7 separate regions of the Homo sapiens genome follow, and all the other regions are linked to region 2. Evidence: promoter capture Hi-C in 16 types of primary human blood cells and fetal thymus (Javierre and others, 2016). All regions are on one chromosome and are shown on one strand. Each heading gives the region's core, a stretch centred on a gene start or on the middle of the fragment in contact. The rest is flanking DNA. Distances are from core to core; before and after follow the strand shown. Region 1 overlaps PAN3 (poly(A) specific ribonuclease subunit PAN3). Region 2 holds the start of SLC46A3 (solute carrier family 46 member 3). Region 3 overlaps FLT1 (fms related receptor tyrosine kinase 1). Region 4 overlaps FLT1 (fms related receptor tyrosine kinase 1). Region 5 overlaps FLT1 (fms related receptor tyrosine kinase 1). Region 6 overlaps FLT1 (fms related receptor tyrosine kinase 1). Region 7 overlaps PAN3 (poly(A) specific ribonuclease subunit PAN3).

Region 1 (2,916 bases), core at 165-2,664, 480 kb after region 2:
TGCAAATACCACATGTGATTCAATTGTTCTATGGGGAAGAACTGTGCCTTAATCCTCTCTGTATTCCCATCTACACATGTAAATGGCACACTGTGTAGATGGGAAATTATTCAAAAAAATAATTTTGTTGAAAAAAAATGGATTAGAGGTGAAGATCTCCTCTTTTCTTGGTACCAACAACCAAGATGCTAAATACAGCAATAGCTATCATCATCAAATTGCCTGCACTGACAAAGGCCATCACGGAAGAAGTACTAAGTATAACAAAAATCTGGGGGCAGAGGAAAAGTAAATGATCATGCTATCAAGCAGCACATATGTCAGTCAATACTATTTAAAAGCAAACATGAAACAACCCACTAGACACTACGAGAGAAATAGAGGAATGTGAAGGAAGCTGGGATGAAGGACATTCTTCTGACAAAGTCTCATTACTCTAGTATGTGTTACTTTTTCTAGGTCAATGCAATCTGGGTAAACATGGGTTATACAAATAGTTTTAATGAAGTTCCAATAACCAAACTAAATCCTCAATAATAAATTGTCATGTCTAACTACATTGAAGATAATGATTTAGATTAGAAATTAATAAAACATATGTCATCTTGAACAGATGACTTGAGAACATGTGAAGCATTATCTTCTTAATAACAAGGCCAATATCTGGGGCTTTTGCCATGAGAAAAATCATACTAAGGAACTTATGTAATCATAATCAAAATACAAAAAATGCGCTACTACTACAAATACTTATTCATTTTTAACCAAATTCCCCAAATCACCCAAAATTAAAGAATACACACTTATAGCCCAAAACACAGACACTGTGTTTATATCCCCAAATTCTAAGAGTCCTAAACATGTTAAGAATTAATAAAGTCTCTTCTTTGATTTTCCTTATGATTCAAAGAGTAGAAATAAATAAACTATCCAAAGTTGAGTTCAACGAAGCCTCCCTCACAACCCCACCCCTGCCACCACCACTTGTTATTTCAGTGCTTCAGAGACAAGCTTTATTCCTCAGACCATTTCTATCACTGGCTCTTCTTAATAGAAGAAGAAACTGAGTTTAAGGAAGGTATTTCAGCATAATTACTATTGCAATTAAAGTTTGAATGTCACAGCATTATTTGCAATTGATGCAACCTAGTCAAAAAAATTCCCAAGCTCCAGATGACTATATACTATATGCAAGTACAGCCTTCTGTTGAAGAGAACTTTCTTTTTTCTTTCTTTTGTCCTTTTTTTGAAACAGCGTTTCACTCTGTTGCCCAGGCTGGAGTGCAGTGGCGCCAACATGGTTCACTGAAGCCTCAACTTCCCAGGCTCAAGCAATCATATACTGCCTCAGCCTCCCTAGTAGCTTGGATCACCAGCACATGCCACCACCCCTGGCTCATTTGTGTATTTTTTGTAGAGACAGGGTCTCAACATGTTGCCCAGGCTGGTCTTGAACTCTGGACTCAAGCAACCTTGCCACCTCGGTTCCCAGCAAAGTGTTGGGATAACAGGCATGGGCCACCACATCCGGCCGAAAAGGAAAATTTAAAAGTGGACACAAATAAAGATATGACTGGGACAAACAAGACATAGGCATATGTATGTTTTAAACATGGATCTCATCCCAGAATAGAGTGTACAATATAAAACCAACCACTTCACCATCCAAAAATCAACAGAATCAGAAAGTAGACACTAAAATAATACTAGCCTTTACTTCTTTCCTCAAAATAATTTCATTTTTTCAATCAAATTAACCTTTGCAGAGAAAATCAAATCTGGCAAAAAATGTTCTTAATCAAAAGTATCAAGCTTAACAAGGTAATAAGAATCATGCAGCTATGGAGCGAAAGTTGAATTTTCTGCAAACTCATTTGTCTAAAGCCCAATTTTCTAAACTCTGCCATGATGGATGACTATTTGTACTTCTAGCCTAATCAATCAAAGATATTTAAAGAATCTACTCAAATACTGGCTAGGTAATACTATCATTACTCCTATATATTTTCAACCATCCCAACTTTCAAATGATTAAAATAAAATTTATACATTTATAATCTTTTAATTCTTAAATAACAAAATTATATGCGTTATCACACAGACACAGCTTTGGGATTTTCTATGTCATCCCACAGCATGTTTTATCTTCAAAAAGACAATCCACTGTATCCCTGTATAATTATGGCCCAGAAAATTAGGGTATGAAGCTTTTTATTCTGTAGCTTAAATCCCTCATGTTTCAGATTAAAAATCCATATAATTAAACATTATAATTAATCTCATTTCCTCAAAGATTGATTTTTAAAAGCCTGTAAAGTTTTAGGGTAAAAATTCATTATATCTTATTAATAAAAGTTATCTAAAAAGCATGTTAGCCATAAGCCAAAATATACTCACTAAACTAGCAAAATATTTACTACTCAAATTAAGTTCCATTAAATCTTAAAAATTCTAAGCCACAAATGCATACTACCTTTGTAAAGATGAAATAATCCAAGTGTCAAAAAGTTTACTTGAGAGAAATGTTTATAACCTCATATATTTTAAAAAAAGAAACTTGGATTCATAAGTAGACTGCAAAGCTTCTATGCTGACCTCTCAGTGCATACAAATTCTTGCTGGCAAAAAAAGCAGTAAAATTTATCCACTTTAAAGAAGTTTGACAATAAAATAAAAACGAAGTCAGTAAGAATACTGATGTTAATTGCCAGAACTGATTCCTTCACAAACCCTGTTTTCACAACAGCAACCCCTTATGATTAGGGGAATTAAAAGTTGCTGAACTCAACAATCCCTTCAGTTAAACAAACAGACCCCTCATAGAGCTGTCCAACGCTGCCCAAACTATCCATCCTTTAGTCGAATCAGTCAGTTTCATGAATTGTAGGATTTATCTTCAAGTCCAGTGCTGACTCA
Region 2 (3,088 bases), core at 550-3,049:
CGTGGAAGTATATTGGACATTAATTATTTTTGCCCCATAAGAAAGGACATTTTCAGCAGGGCACGGTGGCGCATGCCTGTAATCCCAGCACTTTGGGAGGCTGAGGTGGGCAGGTCCCCTGAGGTCAGGAGTTCAAGATCATCCTGGTCAACATGGTGAAACCCTGTCTCTACTAAAAATACAAAAATTAGCCGGCCATGGTGGCGCACACTTGTAACCCCAGCTACTCAGGAGGCTGAGGCAGGATCATTGCTTGAATCCGGGAGGCGGAGGTTGCAGTGAGCCAAGATCCTGCAACTGCACTCCGGCCTGGGTGACAGAGCGAGACTCCACCTCAAAAAAAAAAAAAAAAAAAAAGGACATCTTCTAAGTGCCGTTTAGAATAATATAGTACTTAGTACAAAGTACTGCAACTTAAAATATTATGTCTTCCTTGCAAACTGTATCTTACTCATGTTTGTTTATCTTCTTTCCAATATCCATGCTCCATTGTTTGAAACTCATAACAAGTGCTTCATAAATGCTGATTTGAAGAAGCTGGGAAGTAAGATTAAGTGGCAAGTCCAAGGTTACCAGCTACTAAGTATCAGTTAGGACTCAAACCTAAGACGTTTAACTCTGCATTCAGTGACACAACTGTCATTTAAGGAGTGCTGAGGAAGAGAAAGCAGCTCTGACATCCAGGTGCTGGAACTATCAGCTGGGCCTTGGTGTTGCTAAGAACTTTTCTGGACCATGGTGTTCTGTCGAATGAAAACAATTTCACGGAACACCAAAGTCAGACAAGAGCATTCTGTAACCATGATCAAGACAAAAACAAGACCACGTCATAATTTTGTCTGAACACGGACAAAATTTAGGCACTGTCTAAACCACAAAAATGACAAATATGTGTGACTGTTGCTTCTTTATCATTCATGGCTTTAGCCTCTGTCTAGTCTTGACTCCTAAATAAGACTTATTAAGATACCCAATCATAGAATTACTGCCATTTCCTGACAGCAACCAATCCAGAGTAAGGCCTTGCTTTCTTGAACTCTTCCCAAAATCACATAACGCAAGCCCATAGTAAATTCTAACACCTTCTTACTGAGATGCCCCCACGGTTCCTCATGCATGCATTTCTCCTGGCTTCAAGAAGTAGTAGCTCAATTCTTTTACTACAAGTTGTTCCTGGTGGGTGTGTTGGAGAGCACTGACAACTCCTCCTATGTCCAGGGGCTGTGTTGTGTATACATGCTGAGTGTTTAATTAGACAACCCTGTAAGACTTATCATCCCCACGTGGCAGATAAAGACATGGAGGTTCATGAAAATTTAACGATTTGCCCAAGTCCCCCCTCCCCTCCCCAGGAAAAGCCAGCGACCACATTCCAACCCTCCGCTAACTCTGCATTGAGCACTCTCTTTCCTATGCCCTCCACCTGCGCCCATTCCCCTCTTCTGCGGGCCGACCGGGATCCTGCTGGGGGCTACAGCCCAAACATGTTACTTTTCCAACTGTTGTTTTATGTGTTTCTATGAGAAAGGATATTCGGATTCAGAAATGCTTTGCAACTCCAGAGCTGTTGAGCCTGCGGCGCGGCCCACCACTCAACAGCGGTGCTGAGTGGCTGCTCGGTCGCGCGGGATCCACTCCGGGCCTCCGAGGGTGGGTGCACGATCCACTAGCCACTCTCCAGGGGAGAGTGACGTCCGGGTGGACCAATCGCCGCTGGGGCACCGACCGCTGGGCCCAATCGCAGGAGAGCCGGGTAGAACAGTGACAGCGCCGCGGCAGCCGACCCCGCCTCCTCGGCGGACAGCGATGCTCAGCTGGCTGCGGCCGAGTCATCGCCTAGCGCTGGCAGGGCCGCTGACCGACCGACGGAGGCGCCGATTGGCCGATTGTCCACTGCGCAGAAGGAGCAGCTGCTCCGCGCCCCGCCGCGCCGCGCTGAGGCCGAGGTCCGCAGGGCCGCGGGGAAGCCGAGGGCTGCCGGAGAACCCTGCAGGTGTCACTCGGGACGCGGAAGTGCGCTTGCCGAGGTTTGCTTTACAATACGCTTGAGACTCCCCGACAAGCGTAATTTGGTCGAGTTCGACGGGAAAGTACTCTCCCCACCCCAGCGCCGGCCGCGTAGTCCGAGGTTACTGTCCCCGGCGCGTCCTCTGTTGCCCCAGTCCAGAGGCTGCCCTTGAACCCGGGCGCGCACGAGCGCAGGGCATCCGAGGCGACAGCCCCTGGCACGGCCCGACCTGTACCCAGCCTGGCAGGAAGACTGTAATCGTGGGGTGAGTTAAAAATAAGGCCCTTTCGATTGGGAGCTGCTTTTTAAAACGCCCCCTCCCTGTCCGTTTTTAATACGCAGCAAAATAACAATAACAATTGTGCAACTGTCGCTTCCCAAAAGGAACCTCATTGTTGAACTTACGAAAAATCAGTTGGCAATATACAGTGTGGGAACTGTACTGTGATCATTGGCTAACCAAGATGGGTGACAGTTTATGATTTCAAAGACTCAAAGGCGGCTTGAGTCCTACAATGTCCTACTCATAAAAATGGAAAGCATGGCAGCCTCAGGTTGTTACAGAGTACTCTACTCCAAAGTAAAAGTTATTCTCTGAGAAAGTGCTTACTGCCTTTTCTGTTCTCTAGTTTGCTTGTTTAAACATTTACTCCACAAAATTGCTCAAACTTACCCATCTTTGAATATCTAGCCTCTGGGATGAGACAGATGATCTTTCTCCGTTTTCACTTTTTATAGAATACAGCTACCTACCCAGGCAATATGAAGATTTTATTTGTAGAACCTGCCATTTTCCTTAGTGCATTTGCTATGACTTTGACCGGTCCACTGACAACGCAATATGTTTATCGGAGAATATGGGAAGAAACTGGCAACTACACTTTTTCATCTGATAGCAATATTTCTGAGTGTGAAAAAAACAAAAGCAGCCCAATTTTTGCATTCCAGGAGGTAAGAAATTACAATATCCATAGTATTTAATAAAATGGGAATGTATACCGGGCTTTGAGTTAAAGAGGACCGTGAACTCATCATCCATTGGTCTCTCTAGGGCGGCCATCAAAGTCCTAAATCCCAAAC
Region 3 (3,137 bases), core at 609-3,108, 360 kb after region 2:
ACTCTCCCCACCCCAGCCTGTGGTAACCATCACTCTACTCTCTACATCTATGAGTTCAACTTTTTTAGATTCCACATATAAGTGAAATCATGCAGCATTTGTCTCTCAGTGCCTGGCTTATTTCGCTCAACATAATGTCCTCTAGGTTCATCCATATTGTCATAAATGACAGAATTTCCTGTTATTTTTTAAGGCTGTAGTATTCCATTGTATATATACACCAAATTTTAAAAATCTATTCATCCATTGATGGACACATAGGTTGCCTCCATATCTTGGCTATTGTGAATAATGCTGCAATAAACATGGGAATGCAGACATCTCTTCAGCATCCTTGATTTCAATTTCTTTGGGTAGATACCCAGTAGTGGGATTGCTAGATCATATAGCAGTTTTCTTTTTAGTTGTTTGAGAGGCTCCATATGGTTTTCCAAAATGGCCGTAACAATTTATAATGCCACCAACCGTGTATAAGGGTTCCCTTCTTTCCACATCCTCATCAACACTTGTGATCTTTTATCTTTTTAATAATAGCTAATCTAATAGGTGTGAGGTGCTATCTCATTTGGTTTTTTTCTTGTTTTTTGAGACAAAGTCTCGCTCTGTCACCCAGGCCGGAGTGCAGTGGCACGATCTCGCTCACTGCAACCTCTGCCTCCCCAGTTCAAGTGATTCTCCTGCTGCAGCCTCCCAAGTAGTTAGGATTACAGGCATTCGCCACCACACCCCGCTAATTTTTGTATTTTTAGTAGAGACTGGGTTTCATCATGTTGGCGAGGCTGGTCTTGAACTCTTGACCTCAGATGATCTGCCCACCTCGGCCTCCCAAAGTGCTGGGATTACAGGCATGAGCCACTGCACCTGGCCTCATTTGGTTTTGATTTACATTTTTGTGATTGGAGATGGTGAGTATTTTTTTCATATAACTGTTGGCCATCTGTCTTCTTTTGAAAAATGTCTATTTGATTTCTTTGCCCATTTTTAAATAGGATTATTGGTTTCCTTGTTATTGAGTAGTTTGAGTTCCTTGTATATTTTGGATATTGGCTCCTTATCTGATGTATGATTTGCAAATACTTTTTCCCAATCTGTAGGTTGTCTCTTCACTCTATTAATTGTTTCCTTTGCTGTGCAAAAGGTTTTTAGTTTGATGCAATCCCATTTGCCTATTTTTGCTTTCGTTGCCTGTGCTTTTGGGGTCATATCCAAGAAATCTCTTCCCAGACCAATATCGTGGAGTTTTTCCCCCACATTTTCTTCTAGTAGTTTTATAGTTTCTGGTCTTACATTTAAGTTTTTAATCCATATTGAGTTCATTTTTATATAAGGGATGAGAGAAGGGTCCATTTTCATTTTTCTGTATGTAGATATCCAGTTTTCCCAACACCACTTATTAAGGAGACTGTCCTTTCCCCATTGTGTGTTCTTGGCACCTTGTCAAAAATCAGTTGACCATAGATGTTTGGGTTGATTTCTGGGCCCTTGCCTATTCCATTGGTTGATGGATCTGTTTTTATAACAGTACCATGCTGTTTTGATTATCATAGCTTTATAATATTACATTTTCTTTTTTTAAGCTTTCAAATATTTCTCAACTTTTCTATATTGAGTACATCTTTCATAAGAGAAATACAAACTATTTAAACTAATGAAATACAGCCTATAGTCTGGCCAGGCCTGTTTTATCACTATTCTGGAACAAGTACTCAATTCCTGTTTATTTCCACATCATGCCATTTCTCATGCTTCCGTTTCTCATTTCACCTCTGACAATCCTTCAGACCTCAACTCGAGGCCCACCTCTTCTATGCAGCCTTCCCCAAGTACACCCTTCCTTACTGATCTCCTTCCCTGTGCCAGACCTTCCACTTAATTAGGTATACTGTGCTGTATTCACTCATTCTCATTCATTAAACATTTTCTATTTGTTGGCTTGTGTGTGTGAGTGTATGTGTTGAGCATGTGTGGGAGAGAGAGAATGTAAATGTGTGTGTTTGGTAGGAATTAATTTTTCCTTCTCAACAGATACCATGTCTTAGCCTGCCCACATCTTAGCCTGCTGTTTGTTTTGTAACACGAACTGATGGCAGAGTAAATACTCAACAGACCCTTGGTGATAGTACAAGGTATTGAAGCTTCAAGGTCTTGAAGCCTTTCAGGGGTCTGAAAATTCTTGGGACTCCTTCCACTACACTGTGCTCTGTAGTAATCCTTAAGCTTACATTTACTGAGCACTTACTATGTACCATGGGCTTGCCATTTACTATAGAGTAAGAATTACTTTCATTTTTATCTTAAGATTAAGGAAACTGAAACTTAGAAAGATCAAGTAACTTGCCTAAGTGACAAAGCTTGAAGCGCTAAGGCATGGATTAAAACACAGCCCAGGCAAACTCTTCATCACTAGGCTATATTGACTCACCAGGCCTTATGACAAATGAAATATTAGTTCCTTTGACCCATATGTCACAAATGTGCTTTCAGTCAAACTGCATGCTCTTGGTGAAGTTACTTAATCTCACAGAATCTCAGTTTCCTCATTTGTAAAAGGAAGACAATATTAGCTGACAGGCTGGTTGTAAATGTCAAGGTATGAAAGTGTGTCACATAGTGCCGAGCACACAGAGGGCGTTGAGTCAATGATAGTTGTTATTATTAGATATGCTGCCTTCTTGATATCTTCAACTTTCAAGTTGGGCATGGCAGCTGCCTCACATTTCTTTCTACAGGGTGGGTGGATTTGCATCTCCGAAGCTGGGGATCACAGCTCTGCTGGGTGGTGAAGGTGCTATTAGAAAGCCTGCAGAAAAAAAAAAAAAAAAAAAAAGGAAAGAAAAGAAAAAGAAAGCCTGGACCCAGAGAAAACAAATAAGCAACCCTGCCCCAGGTTCACTAGAGCTCGGATTTCCTTGTCTGAATGCATAATGATAGGAAGAAGGCTGTGTTACAGAAGTAGCTGTTTTTTGTTTGTCATCCAGGCCCACTAATCTAAACATCTCTCACCCCTCAGGAATTATTTTAGGACCAGGAAGCAGCACGCTGTTTATTGAAAGAGTCACAGAAGAGGATGAAGGTGTCTATCACTGCAAAGCCACCAACCAGAAGGGCTCTGTGGAAAGTTCAGCATACCTCACTGT
Region 4 (3,237 bases), core at 126-2,625, 400 kb after region 2:
AGGACCCTTCAGACGACACCCCTTCCTCTGACCACACAGGCAGAAGTAGCCATAGGAATAGCCTGTGAGCACCAGGTGCCCCGCACCATGTGACCACCCAACCAAGCGGGTGTCCTTAGCAAGGATTTGCTGAGCTTCTCTGTGTGTTGTACGGTATGTTGAGATCTGTTGTAATCCCTGGGAATTTATTACTAAAACGTAGCTTTAAAGGGAGGAAAGAAACACTGAATTGTCCCCTCTTGGTCTTTTGTACCCTTAAGCCATAACAGGCCCTGTGTTTTCCACATTGTCTCCCGCAGGTGGGTCTCCATACCCAGGAGTACAAATGGATGAGGACTTTTGCAGTCGCCTGAGGGAAGGCATGAGGATGAGAGCTCCTGAGTACTCTACTCCTGAAATGTGAGCCCTTGGTGCCCTCTGCTCCCCATCTGACAGCTCGCTTTTCACCAGGGCATTCCTGAGAGGGGATGTTTTATGGATTCTTAGAGTCCCAGTCTTGGAAGATGCCAAGGTTCTTCTTTCCTTTAGAGATGCTCCCCTCAGCCCATCAGGCCCAGATATGCTGGGAGTGTTTTCTTGCAGTGGGGCACGTGGCCCTTGACCCATCCCTACCTATTTCCTGTCCTGACCACTGACATGACTTTTCAAGGGCTCTAGCTGGGAACTGAAGTTAGAAATTCAGTTTCTAGGTATGAATCCAGGCAAAACAAACAGACCACCCAGGAACTGAATGCAAGACCTTGGCCTCACTCACGGAGTGGGAGCCAAACAGGCCTAGCAGCCCCAGGGATGGAGGGCTAGACCTTGGTCTTGTGACCAGTCCTGTGTCTGCACAGAACACCCGTGAGGGGGTTGATGTGGTCTGCAGAACAGGTCTTGGAGAGGAAAAGGGGAACTTCCTGATGTCATGATTATGCTTCACAGAAGGCTTTGTGGGCAATACAACTTCTTTAGAATCCTTTGGGAGGAATAGGGGCCGGGCGCAGTGGCTCACATGTGTAATCCCAGCACTTTGGGAGGCAGAGGCGGGCGGATCACTTGAGGTCAGGAGTTCGAGACTAGCCTGGCCGACATGGTGAAACCCCGTCTCTACTAAAAATACAAAAGTTAGCCGGGCCTGGTGGCAGCTACTTGGGAGGCTGAGGCATGAGAATCACTTGAGCCTATGAAGCGGAGATTGCAGTGAGCCAAGATCACGCCACTGCACTCCAACCTGGGTGACAGAGTGAGATTATGTCTCAAAAAAAAAAAAAAAAAAGAACCTTTTAGGAATAGGCCCAGCAGCTGTCTGAAGCTGCCTGGTCAGATGGCTTTTCGGGTGTCCATGTGAGGCTTTCTCCACTGTGCAAATTGCACTTGCTTGCCTGTCTTGGACACTTTTTTTCCTGGGGCTTTGTGGATGTTTTGCACTTTGAGGCCTGAGCAGGAATGTGATGACACTTGCACTTTTGTGGAGCTGCTGACAAGGACTTGGGCCTCCCTGAGGCGGCACCACCTTTCCTGAACTGGCAGGGGCCCTCCCATTCCACCCACACAATGGGGTCCTGTCAGAAGCCCTGGCTGGCCTTTCAGAAGGAATCAGAGGGAATGCAGGAAGTGTGGGCTTGGCCAAAGGGCAAAGTCACTGTCTCTTTCCTTCATCATCTCGGGGTAAGGGTAGGTCAGACCCAGGATGGGGAACTGGACGAGGTGGACAGGAGACTCAGGCCCAACAGCAGGGCTGGGGAGCTCTGCCTGAGCGTAGGGAAGCGGGAGGGGACCTGTTCTTGTCACTGGTGCGTGGTGTCCTCATCAGAAAAGTACAGGGAGCTGAGGCAAGGCCTGTTTCTGAGAGCTGGGGATAGAGCTAGATGATTAACTTTATGATTTTCTAAGTGTTTTCCCACACATAGTCTCATTTGAAGTTCCCAGAGACCTTGAGGGGTGGTCAGGGCAGCTATTGTAATCTGAATTTAGCAAGTAATGAAACTGAGATGCCGAGAACTGAAGCAATGTGCCGTCTGTCAGCTGAGAAGCAAAGGAGACATTTAGAACCCAAGCCTCTGGACTGATGTCCCTAGACCACGGCTGATGAATTAGGAACAGACCCCACGTTCCTCAGTAGAAATGCTTCTCTGATATGGCCACTCATGCTTTGAATTAAATATGTCCTTCCAATCTTCATATAGTCTGAAAATCTCGAGAAAGTTCTCAATTACACTAATAGTTGTTATTATTAAATAACAATATTTTTACATCAAAATAAATGCAAAACAGTATGAAATTAAGTTTTATTTTTACTTCCATATAAATTCTAAATAGTATGAAATTAGTTTAGTTGGGTTTTTTTGTTTGTTTTTTTGAGATAGTGTCTCGCTCTGTTGTCCAGGCTAGAGTGCAGTGGCGTGATCTCAGCTCACTGCAACCTCCACCTCCTGAGTTCAAGTCATTCTTTTTCCTCAGCCTACTGAGTTGCTGGGACTACAGGCATGTGCCACCACGCCTGGCTAATTTTTATATTTTTTTGTAGAGATGGGGTTTCTCCATGTTGGCCAGGCTGGTCTCGAACTCCTGAGCTCAAGTGATCCACTGGCCTTGGCCTCCCAAAGTGTTGGGATTACAGGCGTGAGCCTCCATGCCTGGCCTGAAATTAGTTTTTATTATAACAGTATTGAATAGTACTGATTAAATAGTTATTTGGTGCTTATAAGTGCCACTATTTTAAGCATTAATTTATTTAATGCTCATAACAGTCCTATAAAGTAGGACTACCATGATCCCCATTTCACAGATGAGAAAACAGGCACCGCACATGTAAGTGATTTGCTCAAGCCTGCGTTGGTAATAAGCGAATTCAGCTTGAGTCCAGAGTCCACAGCACCATCCTACACTGCTGCAGAGTGTGTTTCCCATTCATACCCAGGCTGTGGTCGCAAATAACTCAGAGGTACAAAGTCACATCAGCTTTGGACCAAAAACTGCTTTGGACTTTCTCAAACCTTCAAGTCTTTACATAAACCTCGCTCAGGTAGCTCCCGTGCCTCAGGTGACCTAGAGAGAGTGGTATGGTTCCTTAATTCTGAGGAGGGAGAGATTTTAGAAATTTTAAAAAGTAAGAAGCTCTGTGAAATATTTCCTCAGAAGGCCAGACTTCAAACCTTCAGCCATTTTCTCCAGCATGTGAAAGCTGATGGAGTAATTTCCTTCTTGTTTGTTCTAACAGTAGGAAGGGCTGGGTGAGGACCAAGTGCAGCTTCT
Region 5 (2,857 bases), core at 112-2,611, 380 kb after region 2:
TTCTCAGGCTCAGGACACTTTTCTTTTTAGATGGTGGAAGGCATTGTGGAAGAAAAACATTGATACTTTATCCCAAATAAAGCAAGGAATAAACCTCCAACCAAAATGCACCAGTTTTTACTAGTATAGAGAAGGCATCTGCCAGCGCTGTTCCCACACCGGATTTTCAGATGTAGCACTTTCAGGATCCACTGGAGGCTCTTTTATTTCAAATCGAGGGTCCCCATCCTGGTCTATTTCTTCAACAATTTTATGCGAAGAAGGAAGCAGAGGCTGTAGCTCTGCCCGTGTTGCATGCTCTGGGAGGAATGTCATTTAGTAATCACTACGGGAGCATGTTTCACAAAAAGAGAAACGTGTCGTCTCCCCAGTGTTCTCTCTGAATGCAGAGCATGTCCCTGCAGACAGCCACACAGAGGCCCTAATGATGACACTGGTATAAGTGAAATTTTCATACATCCTAACTGGACACCTGGGGTGGTGGGTAGTAGAAGACATTAAGCAGAGCAAGGTAAAGACATTTTTGTCACTGAGTAGTTGGGCATAAAAGTAGAAAGGTTCTAATATGATGAGGAAGAAGCAAAGCTTCATTACAAACTACAAGAAAATTTTTTAAAAATGCCCTTTGGGGAAAGGGAGTGGAGTAATGAGGAAGGAAGGGAGGAAAGAAGGTTCATTAACTGAAGGCACATTATCAGACGGGTCTAAGAAAGAGCACTTGGTTGGGAAAGGAGGGGTTGTGTTAAATTAACACTCTAACTGCCAGGATTTATAATAGTTTTAACCAACCAGTGGTATTCTGTCATTTCCCCTTCCCCCAAGAAAAGCCAAAAAAAGACTGACTTACTTCACTTACTCTTCTTTGGGTATATCATGCTGGAGGTGCACCATTTCTCTGGGTTCTATTGAGCTGTTTCCTGATGTGCAAAAGGAGGTTCCCTGATATAAAAGGCAGCTTAGGTACTCCAGGGAGTGCCCTCCCTAAAGGGCATCAATCTCAGGGTCTCCATCCCATGGGCCCCTCTAGTTACCTATGACTAGGAGACTTGCTTTGGGCAACCCACACATTCCTGAACACCACTCTCCATTCTGCAGCAATATTCAGTAATAACAGATAGCACCAGGCACCAAGTTAGGTTCTGGGAAGATTCAGACATGGTCCTTGCCCCCCAGAGTAAAGGGGGGCAAGGACTCCCTGGGTCATTCTAGGATAGGGAAAGAAACATATTAACAGTCATTATAGCATAGCATTATGGGGACCATGAAAGGAACCTTGCTTAGTTATTGCATTTAGCAACTACCTCTCTGGGGTTGAAACAAATCACTACCAGTGGTTGACCAGGCTCCTGTGCTGAACCACGAGGATTTGTAATCTTCACCTAAGACACATTAGAAAGACTGGAAATATTTTGCCTGGTAGGGAAGTCGGATAAATGACTTAGTGATTATTTTAAAGTTATGAGCATTATTATAATCCACAGTAGTAACCACCATTTTCTATTTCTCCCTTTTTGCTGAAAACAGATGAGAGAAAAATGACTGTAAATGGAAAAAGAAAAAGAGCTTAGGTTCCACACAGGGAAGTCTTCTTGGTCATAATGTTATTAAACAATGGAAGAAACTACACGGGACTTGGTCCCATCTCTCCTACGGGAGAACGCTGTGGAAAGGAAACTGGACATCTACCTTCACTGAATGCCTTCTAGGGACTTACTCTATCTTTGAAGGATGTGGGGCCTCAGGAACAGAGTTAAGAGTTGAAAGGAAGAGACTCCAGAAATAAGTCCCTTACTTTGTCTCTTTTAGGGTTAGTTCACTGGAGATTCCATGCCTCACATGCACACATAGGAAAAGGCATTTCCTTCCTGAAAAAGACTTAAACTCACCCTATTGCCTCGGCAAACAAACCAGTGTCTTCTCTTCATTACAGGCAAATCACTTGGAAGAGGGGCTTTTGGAAAAGTGGTTCAAGCATCAGCATTTGGCATTAAGAAATCACCTACGTGCCGGACTGTGGCTGTGAAAATGCTGAAAGGTATGTATGCTGTAGTTTGGCTTTCAACTGACCCATCACCATTTTGCATTTCCTAAATGTTGGTACAAGTTAGATATAGCCTGGGAACAGACACAAGCTTTTCTGCTCTGGACACATAATTTTCTTCTACTGCTAGAGGCCTCTTTGCTCACGAGTTTTAGATTAGGCCAGCACGAGCTCAGAAGAAACCTTGTAAATGGAACAATCCAGCACTGTCCATAGGAAAATGATCTCTGTCACCTCAAAGGTCTTTCTCATCTCACATCACAGACTGTAGACAACAAGGGACTTAAGCCCATTGTAACTGCAGGTTCAGATTTTGGCATGATCTACTGTGATGTTGTAATGGAAACTTAGCAGCACATTCTAAATCCCAATGGCTTTGCTTGGGCTTGACCTGACTATAAAGTAAAACTATAAAGCTAGAACAATTGAGTTGATCAGAACTCTAAACTATTTTATACTAACTACCTCAGCCATAAAACATTTCCTCTTTAGCAGTTTAAAAACCTGAATTATCTTTCTAGTGTTGAAAGATACTACTACTCTGTGAAGCACTGGGAGGTAGAACCAAATCACACAGTGACTTATGCCCAACACCAAAGACAGATTGAAAATGAAAATCAGTGAAAGCTGTGTAAACCACATGTCTCAAAGACTCACAGGTCCTTTACAGTGTAGAAAATACTTCATTTCCTCATCTGTAATGGAATTTTATGATGCTTCAACTCAACAGAACTGAAAACTCAAAAAGCAGCTTTTAACTTTCCAAAGTCTCCAGGATACTGCTGGGAAATTTTGAAGCCCAGCAAGCTGTGAGTC
Region 6 (2,997 bases), core at 93-2,592, 310 kb after region 2:
GAGAGGACAGCGCCGAGCTGAGGCTGATAACAGTGGCCTTGTCCAGAATAGTGCATGGGAGCTTTCTTATCTCGCTTTGGCAGGAGGTGCTGTGGACTTCCTGTGCGAAATCAGGAGCGAACGCTGCTTTCCTCTTGTTGTTCGGCTTCCTCCCCCCTCAAGACAGTTCCCAGCACAGTGATTATCTTTGCATCTTCAAACATGGCACAATCTACTTCCTTAAGAGCTTGATGTATTCTTAAGGCTTAGGCACATTCCCCTCCCCCTAAATCTCTTTTCAAGTGCTGTTATATAGTAAGGCTTCTAAATGACATTCTATTTTTATAGCCCCAATTACAAAGAGGGAAAAATAACAGCCCCTAAATTAGAAAATAGCCACAGAATCTGTCCTTTTTATGTGGAAGAGCTGGCAATAAGTCTGGCCTATAGTTTCCATACTAGGGCTTGTGCCCTTAGTAACTGCCCTCAGAGTCATGGGTGTGGGATGGGGGAGGTGTGGGGTGTCAGAGGTCAACAGCCCCAAGTGAACTCAGATAGCAGACTGTATTTCCCTTGAGAAACACCCAGGCTTGCCTTACTCTAACATATTTCTTTGCATTTCCTAAAGCCCAAGAGTATGAAATTAAGATCTTTGACTAAGGTATCCCCGATCTTTTTCCTTGCTTTGGGGGAAAAGGAATACAATCTAAAAGCTTGTCTTCCAGATACAAGAGAACTTTAGCTGTTTGATGTCACAATCCCAAGTACATATGCAAATGTCTAATCTAGGTATACACATGTGTATATGTGCACATTATATACACTCATACCTGTAATACGAGTGTGTGAAAGATAGCAAGTCTAACGCAAGATTAACATGGGGATGTTATAGTCTAGAAAATGGAGAATATGATAATGAAAAAATAAGGCAAAGTGACTCTCATATAATGACTTTTAAACTTTGTCATTAAGATGTTTCTAATAAAGGAGAAAGTACATAATTTCTCTTTGGCTCAGTTTACTCTACTTATCAATAAGCATTAAAATGTTCATTTATTTTACCTCATGATTATTATAAGGTTATACCTGGTAAAAACTGCAGAAATTCCTTGAGGAATGGTCACCTTTTATTCATTCTTTTTAAATTTTAAATCTTGTAATCTAACTGTAAGACAGACATCTTTAAAAACATTTGGGGAAATCTGATATACGGTTTAGGTGCAAACACCACCACGGAATTATTGCTAATTCTCTTAGGTATAAAAGTAGTGTTGTGGTTATATTGGAAAAATTTGCTCATTTTTTAGAGAGATGCACTGAAGTACATAGGGCTAAAATGACAAGATGCCTGAGATTTGTTTTAAAACACAGAAATCCTTCATTTGGCCAGGCTAGAAAAATTTTAAAATAAATAAATAAATAAAATACAGAAGAAAAAAAAGGGGTAGATGAAACCAATGTGACAAAATCTTGATAACTGTGAAATCTGGGTGGCGGGTATATGGGGGTGTATCACACTATTCTCTCTACTTATCGGTGTGTTTGATAATAATAAACAATTAAAGAAAGTAGAAACTCTTAGCAAAAACAACTTCGGGTACCTTGTGCCTGTCTGCATGTGTGCAAATGTTTATGGGGCGCCGACGGCATGCTCGGGCCCTGCTTAGCTATGGGGACAGAGTGAATACGTCGATTTGTCCCCTGTCCTCCTGTAGCTGTTGGCCCAGCGGGGACTCAGAACCATTAAGTCAGCACTTAAAAGGTGGTGAGTACTCTGCAGGAGGACGTTACAGGGCCAGTACCCCTGCAGATGCGATAGTTTAACACTCTGGAGTTCCTTCTCAGCTCAAGGACCAGGGAGGAATAGTAACGGAACGTTTTTCTGACCACATTCCCTTCTGTCTTCCCCTTTTTCTCACTGACTTTAGCCTCTCATTTTCCTCTCACATAAGTCATTCCTGCTCTTGGCTGCTAAAGATGAACCACTCATTTTTTTCTGGAAATGAAGCTTGAAAATTTCACTTAGCCTATAATCCCAGCTACAGGCTGAAGCGGCAGGATTGCTTGAACCCAGAGGTTCGAGGCTGCAGTGACCTATGATTGCACCACTGCACATTAGCCTAGGTGACAGAGTGAGACCCTGTCTCTAATATTAATAATAATAATAATAATAATAATAATAAAATTCCTCTTGGTTTAAAAAATCTGTAGAATCTGCCCAAGACATGTGCAAATTAGAGACCAGCAAGCTTTCTGCTCAAAAAAATTCTAGTCCAGAAAGTCAGAATGCAAAATGGTGAAATGTTTAAAACAGAGAGAGAATTCATGGACCTCAAAGATAAATAACATCAACACCTTTATTTTATAATTAAACACTTGAGGCCTGAGAGCTTGAACAGTTCCCCAAAACTTGAGCAGAGAGAGACTGAATTTAATAACTGTTTCATGATGTTGATTTCCATATGCACTTAATTAGCCCTGGAAAAACTTAGCCATCCAACTGCATATTCTGATTAAAAGCCAGCCTTTTATAGATATAAAATGGTATGATTTCCTTGAGTTTTTTATTCATTAACATAACTTCATTTTTTCCGTGTTTGAATGTTACTTCCACTAAAAACTAAAATCTAGATACTAAATTTTCTAATTTATGCATTTTTATTTAATATTAACATTTACAACGAAAAGGATGTATGGTGACACACTAGTGTGGGGCTTTTTTCAAGTATCAGCCAAATATATTTGCTATTTTTAAGTTTTGAGGATGAATATAGGAAAAAATCTAAGGAAAAGAAGATCACACATAAAATTTGTGACTTTGTTATCTGAGGACTTACACCAAGTTTTCATTTCACCTGTCCCCATTGACTGAACCATGCTGTAAAGCCACATTGTGACAACTTTTTTTTTTAATAGGTGTGACTTTTGTTCCAATAATGAAGAGTCCTTTATCCTGGATGCTGACAGCAACATGGGAAACAGAATTGAGAGCATCACTCAGCGCATGGCAATAATAGA
Region 7 (3,243 bases), core at 306-2,805, 420 kb after region 2:
GATTCTTCCTGCCCGCTGCAACACTCTAAACTCATATATACACAAGTGCTAACCTGACATCTCCCCTTGATGCTCTAGCAGACTGTATTTTTTTCAAATACAGGTGTATTTTTCAAAGATATTGTACTGTATTTTTCAAAAATATTCTATTTTTCAAAGACAGCTGCAAGATTATCTCCCATCTCACACGACCTTTGGCACACGACCTTTGGCAATGTCCCCTCCCCTAGAATCAGAGCTAGCTTTAGGACTCACTTGTGATCAATGCAATGTGAAAGAAGGGACACTGCATGGCTTGGAGGCCAGGTCAGAAAAGATCATGCACTTCCTGAGTCTTGGTACACTCACTCTTCAACAGTTCCCGCCAGGGACCCAGCAGCCATACTTGGAGAAACCTAAGCCACATGGAGGCCATGTGAAGGTGCTCCCATAGACAGCAGCCAGCTGAGTCCAGCCCGCAAGTCACTCCAGCCCCCATCCATTGGAATTTCCCAGCGGAGGCCCAATCACAATGGCATAGAGACAAGCCTCCCTGCTGTGTCTTGCCCAGATTCCTGACCCACAGAATCCTTGAATGTAATAAAATGCTTGTTTTATGCCATTAAGGGTGGAGTTGTTACAAAGCAAATAACCAGAACAAATGTGTACTAAACATCTCAAACTTAATGGGCCTTAGACCAAACTCCCAAATTGTCTTTTCCTGTTTCTCCATCCTCCCCTGCCCTGTAGACTCTTTGTTCTTACAACAGTCTCTTCCAATTCAGCAGAATCCTCTATCCTGTGAGCATCAAGCCAAAGGAAATATTTTTTGAGACAGGGTCTTACTTTGTCGCTCAGGCTGGAGTGCAATGGCTCCATCTCGGTGCACTGCAGCCTTGACCTCCTGGGCTCAATCAATCCTCCCACCTCAGCCCCCTGAGTAGCTGGGGCTACAGGTGCGTGACACCATGCCTGGCTGATTTTACTTTTTGTAGAGACAAGGTCTCACTATGTTGCCCAGGCCTGTCTCAAAACTCTGGGCTCCGGTGATCTGCGCACCTTGGCCTCCCAAGTGTCGGGATTACAGGCATGAACCACTGCACCTGGCCAGCAAGCCAAAATCTTAAGAGTCATTCCTGACTTCTCTCTTCTTTGTCCGCATCCAGTGAATCAGGACATCCCTGATGGCTCTACCTTTAAAACCTTATTTGAAGTCCAGCCACTCTGCACCACCTCTACTGCTACCACCCTAGTCCAGGTGTTTTTTTTTTTTTTTTTTTTTTGACAGTCTCGCTCTTGTCAGACCAGCTCTGTTGGCCAGGCTGGTCTTGGAACTCCTGACTTCAGGTGATCCACTTGCCTCGGCCTCCCAAAGTGCCGGGGTTACAGCTGTGAGACACCGTGCTCAGTCGCAGGTGGGTTTTAAAACTCAAAGATGGCTGGGCGCTTTGGCTCATGCCTGTAATCCCAGCACTTTCAGAGGCCAAGACAGGCAGATCACCTGAGGTCAGGAGTTTGAGACCAGCCTGGCCAACATGGTGAAACCCCGTATCTACAAAAAATATAAAAATTAGCCAGGTATGGTGACGGATGCCTGTAATCCCAGCTACTCGGGAGGCTGAGGCAGGAGAATCGCTTGAACCCAGGAGGCAGAGGTTGCAGTGAGCCAAGATCGTGCCACTGCACTCCAGCCTGGACGATGGAGTGAGACTCCGTCTCAAACAAAACAAAAAAACCCAACAAAACTCAAAAGACATGGGTTTTAAAATCCAACATCCTTCACTTGGGATGCTGTCAGTTTCCCACCATGTCAACAGCTCACTTCCTCCCTCAGTCTGTTCACGTCGTAGCCAGAGTGATCCTTTTTAAATGTCTTATCATGTTACTCTTCTGCTGAAAATCCTCCTGCAGCTTCCTTTTTCTTTTGAGACAGAGTCTTGCTCTGATGCTCAGGCTGGAGTACAGTGGTGCGATCTAGGCTCACTGCAAGCTCTGCCTCCTGGGTTCACGCCATTCTCCTTCCTCAGCCTCCCGAGTAGCTGGGACTACAGGCGCCTGCCACCACGCCTGGATAATTTTTTTATTTTTGATAGAGAGGGGGTTTCAACATGTTAGCCAGGATGGTCTCGATCTCCTGACCTCGTGATCTGCCCACCTCAGCCTCCCAAAGTGCTGGGATTACAGGCGTGAGCCACTGCGCCCGGCACGGCTTCCTCTTTTGAGGGTAAAAGCCAAAATACTTAAAATGGTCCACAGGACACACCCCTTCCCTATAGACCTTTCTGACGTCACTTCCTACTTAACTTGGCTCTAGCCACATTCGCTCCCCTGCTGTTCCGCAAAGGCTCTGAAACATTCCCTTACCTGGAATACTTTACCACCAGACATACACATGGCAGACCCCTTATGCTTTCTCGTGAGTAGTCTTCTCTCCTAAACTACATTGTTAGTCATGTATTGTATTAAGATGTTTGGGTATAACTATACATTCTGTAAATACCAAGTCCCTGTATCTGTCTTAGTGCCTAGAACAGATCCAAGGACACAGTAGATAAGACTTAAGGACTACCTGATAAATTAATGAATAAATCTGCTGCCATTTCATCCAAATACAAAAATTCCTCCAAAATACAGAGGAAATAACCAATCTTTTAAAATCCAATCATAAGATAATCATCATCTTGTTATATGAACACGTGCAAGAAAAGGACAAATTTATCTCTGTAATTCTTTATTAAAAATACTGCTGTACACATAGAGACTGAAAACAGGATTAAAGATGAATAACACAAATTGGGTCATGACATTAGAACCTAACACACTGGTGCTTTTTAGGGAAGTTGTTGACATCCAAATCACAGAACCAAGGTCAAAAGCAAAATACAAAGGTACCCTCAAAAATATTTACAATGAAGTAAATACACTAACAGAATTTAAAACAGGTACAAAATATTGAAATGACCAACGTTACATGATTTCAAGGGTTGTCCTTTCTGTGCTTTTATCTGTCACGACAGGAAGGTGTGGAAAGTTTATATCCTTAATTTGACTACTCTTGGATATTAAAATCTTTCTATTAATTAAAAAGACTTTTAGACAACCTCTTAAATGGAATTACACTATGGAAAACAGGGCTCCCCCAAAAACACCTAGGCAGAACTGAGAGTTCTTTGAAAACCATTCCCAATAAAAACTAAATGAAAAATAAATATAAAACAAAGCTTAAAAAAATATGCATTACCTGACACCAACCTTTTCTGGCTG

What was found. Contacts are between HindIII fragments. The CHiCAGO score rates a contact against its expected background, and 5 or more counts as called.
Region 1: a contact is called between a fragment that was not itself captured here and the fragment with the promoter of SLC46A3 in region 2, in 1 of 17 cell types (naive B cells). The highest score is 5.3, in naive B cells.
Region 3: a contact is called between a fragment that was not itself captured here and the fragment with the promoter of SLC46A3 in region 2, in 1 of 17 cell types (monocytes). The highest score is 6.7, in monocytes.
Region 4: a contact is called between a fragment that was not itself captured here and the fragment with the promoter of SLC46A3 in region 2, in 1 of 17 cell types (monocytes). The highest score is 5.6, in monocytes.
Region 5: a contact is called between a fragment that was not itself captured here and the fragment with the promoter of SLC46A3 in region 2, in 3 of 17 cell types (naive B cells, monocytes and neutrophils). The highest score is 7.3, in naive B cells.
Region 6: a contact is called between a fragment that was not itself captured here and the fragment with the promoter of SLC46A3 in region 2, in 1 of 17 cell types (neutrophils). The highest score is 5.3, in neutrophils.
Region 7: a contact is called between a fragment that was not itself captured here and the fragment with the promoter of SLC46A3 in region 2, in 6 of 17 cell types (monocytes, total B cells, endothelial precursors and 3 more). The highest score is 5.6, in monocytes.

The regions. Positions count from the first base shown.
Region 1 is chr13:28,239,595-28,242,510 of GRCh38, reverse strand. The region is part of intron 6 of PAN3 (poly(A) specific ribonuclease subunit PAN3); the gene reads right to left. Among named protein-coding and RNA genes, the nearest start is that of PAN3-AS1, 100 kb to the right of the region's middle. The HindIII fragment of the contact is 801 bases long and covers 1,014-1,814 here.
Region 2 is chr13:28,717,681-28,720,768 of GRCh38, reverse strand. It overlaps SLC46A3 (solute carrier family 46 member 3), which reads left to right and starts at 1,799. Exons shown (of 6, transcript NM_181785.4): 1 at 1,799-2,273; 2 at 2,747-2,959. The coding sequence starts at 2,771. The HindIII fragment of the contact is 12,183 bases long and covers 1-3,088 here.
Region 3 is chr13:28,357,559-28,360,695 of GRCh38, reverse strand. FLT1 (fms related receptor tyrosine kinase 1) reads left to right here. Exons shown (of 30, transcript NM_002019.4): 15 at 3,011-3,137. Among named protein-coding and RNA genes, the nearest start is that of FLT1, 140 kb to the left of the region's middle. RefSeq lists an enhancer at 2,230-2,539. The HindIII fragment of the contact is 558 bases long and covers 1,580-2,137 here.
Region 4 is chr13:28,314,660-28,317,896 of GRCh38, reverse strand. It overlaps FLT1 (fms related receptor tyrosine kinase 1), which reads left to right. Exons shown (of 30, transcript NM_002019.4): 25 at 300-399. All of the region lies in intron 2 of LOC124903141 (a long non-coding RNA gene), which reads right to left. Among named protein-coding and RNA genes, the nearest start is that of PAN3-AS1, 180 kb to the right of the region's middle. The HindIII fragment of the contact is 8,639 bases long and covers 1-3,237 here.
Region 5 is chr13:28,333,203-28,336,059 of GRCh38, reverse strand. FLT1 (fms related receptor tyrosine kinase 1) reads left to right here. Exons shown (of 30, transcript NM_002019.4): 18 at 1,931-2,035. Among named protein-coding and RNA genes, the nearest start is that of FLT1, 160 kb to the left of the region's middle. The HindIII fragment of the contact is 1,547 bases long and covers 588-2,134 here.
Region 6 is chr13:28,405,793-28,408,789 of GRCh38, reverse strand. FLT1 (fms related receptor tyrosine kinase 1) reads left to right here. Exons shown (of 30, transcript NM_002019.4): 11 at 2,896-2,997. Among named protein-coding and RNA genes, the nearest start is that of FLT1, 88 kb to the left of the region's middle. The HindIII fragment of the contact is 1,295 bases long and covers 695-1,989 here.
Region 7 is chr13:28,294,786-28,298,028 of GRCh38, reverse strand. PAN3 (poly(A) specific ribonuclease subunit PAN3) reads right to left here. Exons shown (of 19, transcript NM_175854.8): 19 at 2,694-3,243. Among named protein-coding and RNA genes, the nearest start is that of PAN3-AS1, 160 kb to the right of the region's middle. RefSeq lists a silencer at 1,557-1,715. The HindIII fragment of the contact is 3,295 bases long and covers 1-3,202 here.